3 separate regions of the Homo sapiens genome follow, and all the other regions are linked to region 3. Evidence: promoter capture Hi-C in 16 types of primary human blood cells and fetal thymus (Javierre and others, 2016). All regions are on one chromosome and are shown on one strand. Each heading gives the region's core, a stretch centred on a gene start or on the middle of the fragment in contact. The rest is flanking DNA. Distances are from core to core; before and after follow the strand shown.

Region 1 (2,700 bases), core at 200-2,699, 160 kb after region 3:
GTCGGCCAGGCTGGTCTCGAACTCCTGACCTCAGGTGATCCACCTGCCTCAGCCTCCCAAAGTCCTGGGATTACAGGCGTGAGCCACCGCACTCGGCTAGTACATTTTCTTTAAACAGATTTAGTTTGATATTTGCAATAGAAAAAGCCCTAACCTGTACACTAGGTGATTGAGAGAGAACTAGTTCCTTGGCCCAAATGCTGTGAATAGAGCAGGTGCATTGGTCTTCTAAGACCTTCCATGAGCCAGATGACTCAATAGGACTTGGTCTCCAAGGTCTACAGTAGTGATTTCCAAACCTGGCTGATGAACAACAGCCACAATAAAAATATGAGCAGAGATCCTTACCAAGAAACTGTTCATCATTAGATCTGGTGGGATGGAGGGTAGGCATAATTGGTATTTTTCAAAAGTACCCCTATCATTTATTTATTGCCATACCCCAAAGCTTAGTGGCTTAAAGTAATCATTTTATTTGCTCATAATTCTCAAGGGGCTGTTGATTTGGGTGGGGTGCAGCCAAGAGGTTCTTCTGCTAGCTTTACGTGGAACTCTCATATGGCTGCTGTCAGCTGGCAACTCAGCCAGGTGGCTTCCCTCACTTGTCTGGCAATTGGTATTAGCTGAGGACTACAGAAATCCAGCTCAGACTTGTCCACATGGTGGCAGCATCTAAGAGCAAGAGAGAAGAAGCTGTAAGGGGGGTCTCCTGAGGCCTAAGCGCCTAAATTCCTCACGTGTTATTGGTCAAATCAAGTCACGTGGCCAGTCAGCTTCAAGAACCAGGAAAATTGTTTCCTCTACTCCCTGGGAACAGCTGCAAAGGATGTGCTATGTTTAATCTATTACAGTACCCAAGGTTCCTAAGCTTTAATGCAACAAATTACAAATTTAGTGGCTTGAAACAAGGAAAATTTATTATCTTACAGTTCTGGAAGTCAGAACTCCTAAAATTGAGGTGTAAGCAGAGATTCGTTCCTTCTGGAAGCTCTAGAAGAAAATTTGTTTCCCTGCCTTTTCCAGCTTCTAGAGGCCACCTTCATTCCTTAACTCACGGCCCCCTCCTCCATCTTCAAGACCAACAACAGCATCTTCAAATCTCTTTCCCTCTCTGACCTCTGTTCCATGGTCACATTTCCCTCTCTGACCCTCCTGCTTTCCCCTTCCATCCTTTTTTTTTAGATGGAGTCTCACTCTGTCACCCAGGCTGGAGTGCAGTGGCGTGATCTCTGCTCACTGCAACCTCAGCCTCCTGGGTTCAAGTGATTCTCCTGCCTCAGCCTCCCGAGTAGTTGGGACTACAGGCACACACCACCATGCCCAGCTAATTTTTGTGTTTTTAGTAGAGACGGGGTTTCACCATGTTGGCCAGGGTGGTCTCGAACTCCTGACCTCAGGTGATCCGCCCACTTCGGCCTCCCAAAGTGCTGGGATTACAGGCATGAGTTACTGCACCTGGCCTCCCCTTCCATCTTAAAAGGACTCCTGTGATTACAGTGGGCCCACTCAGATAATCTAGGAAAATCACCCCATCTCAAGATCCTTAACTTCATCACATTTGCTAAGTCCCTTTTTGTCAAGTAAAGTGACATATTTACAGATTCTTGGAATTAGGATGCGGACATCTTTGGGGAACTATCATTCTGCTTACCATCTTCAGAATCTTAAATCAAGAGAAACTATGTCACAGAATTCAAGGGTCCAGTGGTCTAGCCTGGGCTAGCCTGCCAGGCTCAGGGAATACAGGTGGAATACAGGCAGTCGAGGGGCTGAGTTTTTCAACCAAACAGACCAGGGTTTGAATTTCAGTTCATCACTTACTGGCTGGGTGACCTTGGGCAAGTTATTAAACTCTGAGACTGTTTTCTGAAGTGTAGGATGGAGATAATACCTATCTCACGGGACTACTGTGAGTTTTAAATGAGCAAATATGTTAAAGTGCTTCAGATAGTGCTTGGAACATAATAAATACTTAGCAAATGGTAATGATGATTAGAAAGACTCCTGGTTTGGTTTCAAGATTTCAGAAATGAAGCTTCATAGGACCCCTCAGGGCTATAGGTGGAACTGGTCACGCTGACTTAGGAGGAACAAGTGGAAAAAGATGGCAAAAGTTTTGGAAAAGAAAAATAGGTGAAGAGTTTGTGATAATAAGGACAACCTTTAGGGTTTAGGAGACACAGAACTAAGTGTGTCTTAGTTGTAGCTGTACTACAGCACTGCGGGCATGGCTTTTGTTTGCTTTGTTAATAAGGGGCATTTTTCAAATCTTGGTGGAGAGGGGAGGGCATAAGAACAGGAGATGCCTGAGGTATAGAAGAGAGACAGTTTTCTGAGGCTCCAGAAAAATAAGCCATGGCTTTAGTGTTCCAGTGAGCTAGATTTCAGTGTTTCTGAAAAAAATAGCAAGTATACATTTCAGGAACACGGGTCAATTTGAGGTTAACATAGCTTGAGGAAAAAAGTAAGTTTCACTGGTTCTCTCCAGTGATTTTTAAAAAATATTTTCCAATTCTGTGATGCACATGTCACAGTAGGCATTATGGCACATTTTGCTGTACAGAAATGTCAATGAAACTTGTCCAAACTTAACATAACCTACTAACAGCTATTTTATCACAAAATTCCAGGTAAATGTGGCCACGGGGATGTTTTCTTAATCTGTGCATTTGAAACTTTGATCACATTGTGAATGTCCCA
Region 2 (2,700 bases), core at 100-2,599, 190 kb after region 3:
AGGAGGGAATTCCTGGCAGAGGACTTGAAATGTGTGGAAACAGCAAGAAGGTGAGAAAGGATGGTGAAAAATTAAGGGTGGCCAGAGCCTAGGATGGCAGTAATTGAGTCTAGTGGAAAAGCTGTGGGATGGTTTAAAGGGATATTATAGCTCCAGTTAAGGAGTTCACCAGTTAAGCAGACAAATAAGGAACCAAAGATGTTCTAATGCAAGGGAGGGACACAATGAGCTTCTTTTTGGAAAGGCAATTTTCTAGGAGGAGATGGCACTGTTCAAATGCAAGCAATAGGACCTGAGACAGGGATCTGTTCCTCTGCTCCTCTCGGGGCCCCACCCCACATCCCACCTCCTCACCTCCCCATCCCCATCTTTCTCCAGAGAACAGTTGTTATTTGAAATCTGTTACCATCCTGATTTTGCAACTAAAGAACGGGGCCAAATAAATGAGCTTATTTCCTCTTCTAGGACAATGTGGGTTGAACACCCAGGAGGACATTTCCCCTTCCTCCAGTTTTTACCCCATTCCCAAATTTGACGACCGAGAGAATGAGATGAAACCTTAAGTGGAACAGCCAGTCTGTGGGACTCAGGAACTGCCAATCCTAGAGGAACCAGCCAACCCCAGAGCTTGTCAGTTTCCCCAGGGCTCGTTCCACATTTTGTGACAATTCCCCCAGGTCTAAGCTGAAAAACACCAAAAAATAGGCCAGCTCTTTTCCATTTAATTAGCCATTCCTCCAAGGATGCCAGGTGGAATGAAGTACGAGCAGATGCATGGGGACAAGAGAAGGCGGGAGTAGATGCTAAATGGGGTTCTGTGAGCCCAGGCTCACCTCTACCAAGGCTGCTTCTTAGAATAAGGAGCTCAAGAGGCAGACGAAGGGGCTGCAGCCTTTGGGCTTGCAAGCCAAGGGTTTCAGGCACTGGGCACGGAGGGGAGCCGGCATGGCCAGTGAGGAGGCCAGAAGGGTGGGAGCAGGTGCCGTGGGAGCAGGTGCTGGGGCAGCTGTGCAGGGTCTCTAGGGCAGGAGGAACCGCTGCTTCCTCCGCAAGGGCGAATGCAGGGTCGCCTGGGGCTCACCCGCCCTAGTCCGGCTCCTGTTTCAGGGCTGTGGGCAGCCAACAGACCACACCGGCAGCCTTGTGATAGCAGCCAACTGAGGTGCTGGAGTCTATTTTTGGAGCTCTTAAGAGTAGGGGGAACTGCCAGCTGCCTGGGACCAGATGATCTCTGCAATGCCTTCCTTATCTAAAACAGGGTGACGCGTGCTAAGCAAATGCAGGCAGCACTCGGGCAAGGGAGAGAGAAAAAGACCCCTTAGAGCCCTGAGGGTCTCTCACCCTTAGCAAATACCTCCTTAGCGCCGCAGAAAGACCACCGATGTGGAGCAACTACCCCCCCTGGTGGTGAATATCGGGATAAGATTACACAGGGGCAGCTTACTTGGCCCTCACTTGGTCTTGCAATTTCTCCCCCAAGTCTCTGAAAGGTGACTGGGAGCCTGCGGTGTGAGTCCAGGGTGATTCCTTTTCTTTCTAGCTTCCTTCTTTTTCTCCTGTTTGCAGTTATGGTCCCTAGCCAGAGGCTTTCAACTTTATGGATCAACATGGCACAGTGGAGGAAGCATTGGCGCTGTGCCCTGAATCTGAGTTTGAATTTCTTTATTTAAGCCTAGCTGTTTCCATATCTGTAATTTGGAGATGATGCTAGAGGCACTGTCTGCCTCCCAAGGAGGCTGTGAGATCCAATGTGAACCACTAATCACAGACAAGGAAAGAGGGATGCTTCCTGGTCCCACGACCCAGTTAGTTCCATTGCTGGCTAGGGTGATCTTCCCTGTCAGAAGCCAGCATCACTGTCACCCATGCCTGGTCCTGAGATACCCCACAAGGCTCAGCTCCTCGTGGCTGCTAGGATTCTTTCATTCTGGTCAGGAAGTCACCTTTCCAGCTGCCTAGGCTGATGGCCAGAGGAGGACGGGATGACATGGTGATTACGGCACTCAGGCTGGAAAGACATAGGGAGGAGTCGTGAGCCTATTTGTTGTTGTTGCCACTTAACAGTCTTATTATTGACATTTATTTTTAGGTATCTTACCGGACATTTCTTTTATGCACTGTGACTCTTTGTCTATCAGATGCTGGATTTTGTTGGTGAGACACAAGACAGAGAACAAATTCTTGTTCTCCCTAAGGGAGATACTTCGCCCATGCTTGTGACTCTCTTTCCACAGGTCAGTTAGTGGAGCTTTTGCTATAGCTTCTTTTCTTTTCTTTTTGTACTGCTGGCTTAAAAACAAAAATGAGGTGAGTTGTCTGAATGGTCTGAAAGGTCAATTCTTTGGGAGCAATGTTGCACTGTGTGTTTAAAAGTTATTTTCAAGAGTTTTGCTAGGTGTACCTCAATTTTTTTATTGTGGCAAAATACAACACGAAAGTTACTATTTTAATGATTTTTACATGTACAATTCATTGGCATTAAGTACATTAACGATGTTGTGCAACTATCACCATCATCTGTCTCTAGAACTTTTTCATCATCTCCAACAGAAGCTGTACTGGGCTGCCACTATTAAAGAACCATAAAGAAACTATTAGCTTCTTTATGACTTAAGCCACTGCTAATTATCTTTTCAACTGCACGCATTCTCTCCTTCTGGTCTCCCTAGACTGGGCACAAGAGTAGTGGCTACTGTGTTC
Region 3 (2,700 bases), core at 118-2,617:
ATACAAAAAATTAGCCACTGGCTCACGCCTGTAATCCCGGCACTTTGGGAGGCTGAGGCAGGTGGATCAGGAGGTTGGGAGATCAAGTCCAACCTGTTCAATCCACCTCACCAACCACACAGTGAAACCCCATCTCTACTAAAAATACAAAAAGTTAGCCGGGCATGGTGGTGCATGCCTGTAGTCCCAGATACTTGGGAGGCTGAGGCAGAAGAATCACTTGAACCCAGGAGGTGGAGGTTGCAGTGAGCTAACATCATGCCACTGCACTCCAGCCTGGGTGACAGAGTGAGACTCCATCTCAAAAAAAAAAAGCAAGCTGGGAAGACTGGGTGGAACATGAGGATCTCAGGCACTCAGGCACATTCCTCCTGGTCCTGATGTGAGAAGTTGCAGCAACTCCTCCAGCTGGAGGTGTTATGGGGAGTTCTCTTTATCTGAGCACTAGGCAGTTCTCAGCTCTGCTCCTGTTCTAGTGTCACTGTGGGAGGGGTGGGGCTGGCGGAGGAAACCACCAGGTGTGGCCATGGGAAAGTCCCTCCAACATTCTATAGAAACATGGAATTTCCTGGTTTTAACCATTTCATATCCAACTGCCATCTCTGAGCTGACCAGAGCAGGACAGACCCCTCCAGCCTCCTAGGACATTTGATGTGGGGCATCGAGTCCTGGCTGGGAAGTTGGCACCTGGGTGCCAGCCCCAGCAGTCTCTGAAGAGCATGGGTAAATTACTGAAGTGTGTGGGCCTCCATGCCTTCAATGCCTTTCTGTAAAATGCTTTCCAAGCTCCCAAACAATTCCAAATATATCCATGTCATCCAATCAACCCACAGAGTAGCTGTTACTCTGCGGGTGAGTGAGCTGGCTGGGAGGGGCTGCATGCTGTGTGCTCAGGTCACACTGGAAGGCATCAGCTGGGTCCCCGCGCTTGCTCTCGGACCTCTGCAGGCCTCCTGGGAAGGTGACTCAGATCCAACTTCTAGGACTGGATCGGCATAGCTCCCACACTTCCTTGGGGTTCCTGGGTGTGGGAGCATGGACTTCCCAGGCAGCTTTCCACTTAGTTAACTTGCCCAACCTGCTCTGTTGACTCTGGGAAGAGCCCTGAACTTCCCTGCTCCAGTGAACTGTGGGAGATGCCAAAACAGCACCCAGCTGCCCATCAAGATTACCAGAAGGGCCCCAGTTCCTGGCTTCTCTGTGGCTCACACTCTGGTCCTATTGCCTACCCTTGGGAACTCAGAGCATCCTCTTTCTCTTTTCTGCTGAGCTGGTGGCTGCACCGAGTTGCCTCTGTCTCTTTAAGAGAGAAAGAGAGAGCGAGAGACGGAAATCAGGAAGTGCGAGAGAGCTGAGAGCCAGGACTCAGTGCTGAGCTTGGTGTCCCACCGCCACAAGGAGGCAGGGAAGAAACCCACTAGTCCCAGCTCCTGGGGTGGCACAGACATTGCAACTGGCCCTGCCTGTGGGTCCTAGGGGCCCTTGGCTACCAGGAGGCTAAGAACACTGCTCATGAATGACAGTGAGCCCTGAAAGCTCTGGGGGTGTCACCCAGTCCCACAAGCCTGCATCCCCTGCAGTGGAGATGGGGTGAGTGTGCAGCGTGCGGAGGGGGGTGGGGGTGGAATGAGGGGCCAGACAAGGGGCAGCTGCAGGGCAGCTCAGCCGGGTGCAGGGGTGTGGGCTTGTTGGCAGCGGTGCTCTCACATAGAGCGTTGTGTGTGGCATGGAGGTGAGCCACCACGGGCCAACCACAAGCCCTCCCTGGGCTCTGCTTACCAACACCCAAAGCCAGCGATCAGCACCCAGCGCCTGCCCTCACCTTTCCCGGGGTCTTTCTCCCTGGCCGGAGTCTCAGGAGTAGGAGACGCTGGGAAAGGCTCCCTGAACAGTTTGGGAATAGAGCTGGAAACCCCCAGCCCAGCCCTGTGGGGGAAGGTGACAAACAGGAAAGGGTTAAAGGGCTAGGGCCGGCGGCCTTTGATGGAGGCTGAGAAGCAACTGCACTGAGGGGCGCCTCTCATCCGCCCTCCTCTTTCCGGTGTAGCTCAGCTCCTGGACGTGCCACAGACAGAAAGCATAACATACACTCGCCAGGAAGAGCCTTTGCCTGACTCAGGGCAGCTCAGAGTGTGGGGTAAGTGCACTTGGCCACAGCAGAGCCCTGAGGAGGGAGGGGAGGGGAGAGGTGGGTGGGTGGTGTCTCACATGCTTCACTGTCCACTGCTCATTCATCCAACCACTGGCTGAGGGCCACTGAGCCCTTCTTTGCACCAGGTGCTTGGGGTGGTGGGGGGAGGATCTGCAGAGCGTGCAGAGTTAAGCCAGATGTGCCACAACCAGAGCTCCCGGGCACAGAATCCAGGGGCACACCGCTTGTCTGGGGGTCTGCGCTTTGCACCTCACTGCCTATTATCCCAGAGTCCTGAGCTGTTCCTTGCCCCAGTATCAGAGCCCTTGGCCTTGATTTCAGCCTGCTGTGCTCCAACCCCAGCCCCAGCCCCCAGACCTGCTGGCTGCCTCCAGCCTCAGCGGGGAAAACCAGACCCACTCATTCATGCTGAGCTACTGTGTTGTCTTCAGGAAGCCTCTCAGTACCTCAGTTGCTTCTGTGTAATGTCCGCTCCTACCTGATCTGAAACTAGGAGTTGACCACCGATCTCTTCAAGGGGCCTCTGGCTCAATGAAATGACATTATCA

Evidence for each region. Contacts are between HindIII fragments. The CHiCAGO score rates a contact against its expected background, and 5 or more counts as called.
Region 1: a fragment that was not itself captured here is called in contact with the fragment with the promoter of IKBKE in region 3 in 6 of 17 cell types (activated CD4 T cells, total CD8 T cells, neutrophils and 3 more); the score reaches 5.9 in activated CD4 T cells.
Region 2: a contact is called between a fragment that was not itself captured here and the fragment with the promoter of IKBKE in region 3, in 5 of 17 cell types (neutrophils, total CD8 T cells, naive CD4 T cells and 2 more). The highest score is 7.7, in neutrophils.

The regions. Positions count from the first base shown.
Region 1 is chr1:206,630,599-206,633,298 of GRCh38, forward strand. No RefSeq gene overlaps it. Among named protein-coding and RNA genes, the nearest start is that of DYRK3, 3.6 kb to the right of the region's middle. RefSeq lists an enhancer at 724-793. The HindIII fragment of the contact is 1,167 bases long and covers 867-2,033 here.
Region 2 is chr1:206,662,971-206,665,670 of GRCh38, forward strand. No RefSeq gene overlaps it. Among named protein-coding and RNA genes, the nearest start is that of MAPKAPK2, 21 kb to the right of the region's middle. The HindIII fragment of the contact is 9,186 bases long and covers 1-2,700 here.
Region 3 is chr1:206,469,109-206,471,808 of GRCh38, forward strand. IKBKE (inhibitor of nuclear factor kappa B kinase subunit epsilon) reads left to right here and starts at 1,368. Exons shown (of 22, transcript NM_014002.4): 1 at 1,368-1,590; 2 at 2,048-2,137. RefSeq lists enhancers at 278-915, 435-744. The HindIII fragment of the contact is 16,341 bases long and covers 1-2,700 here.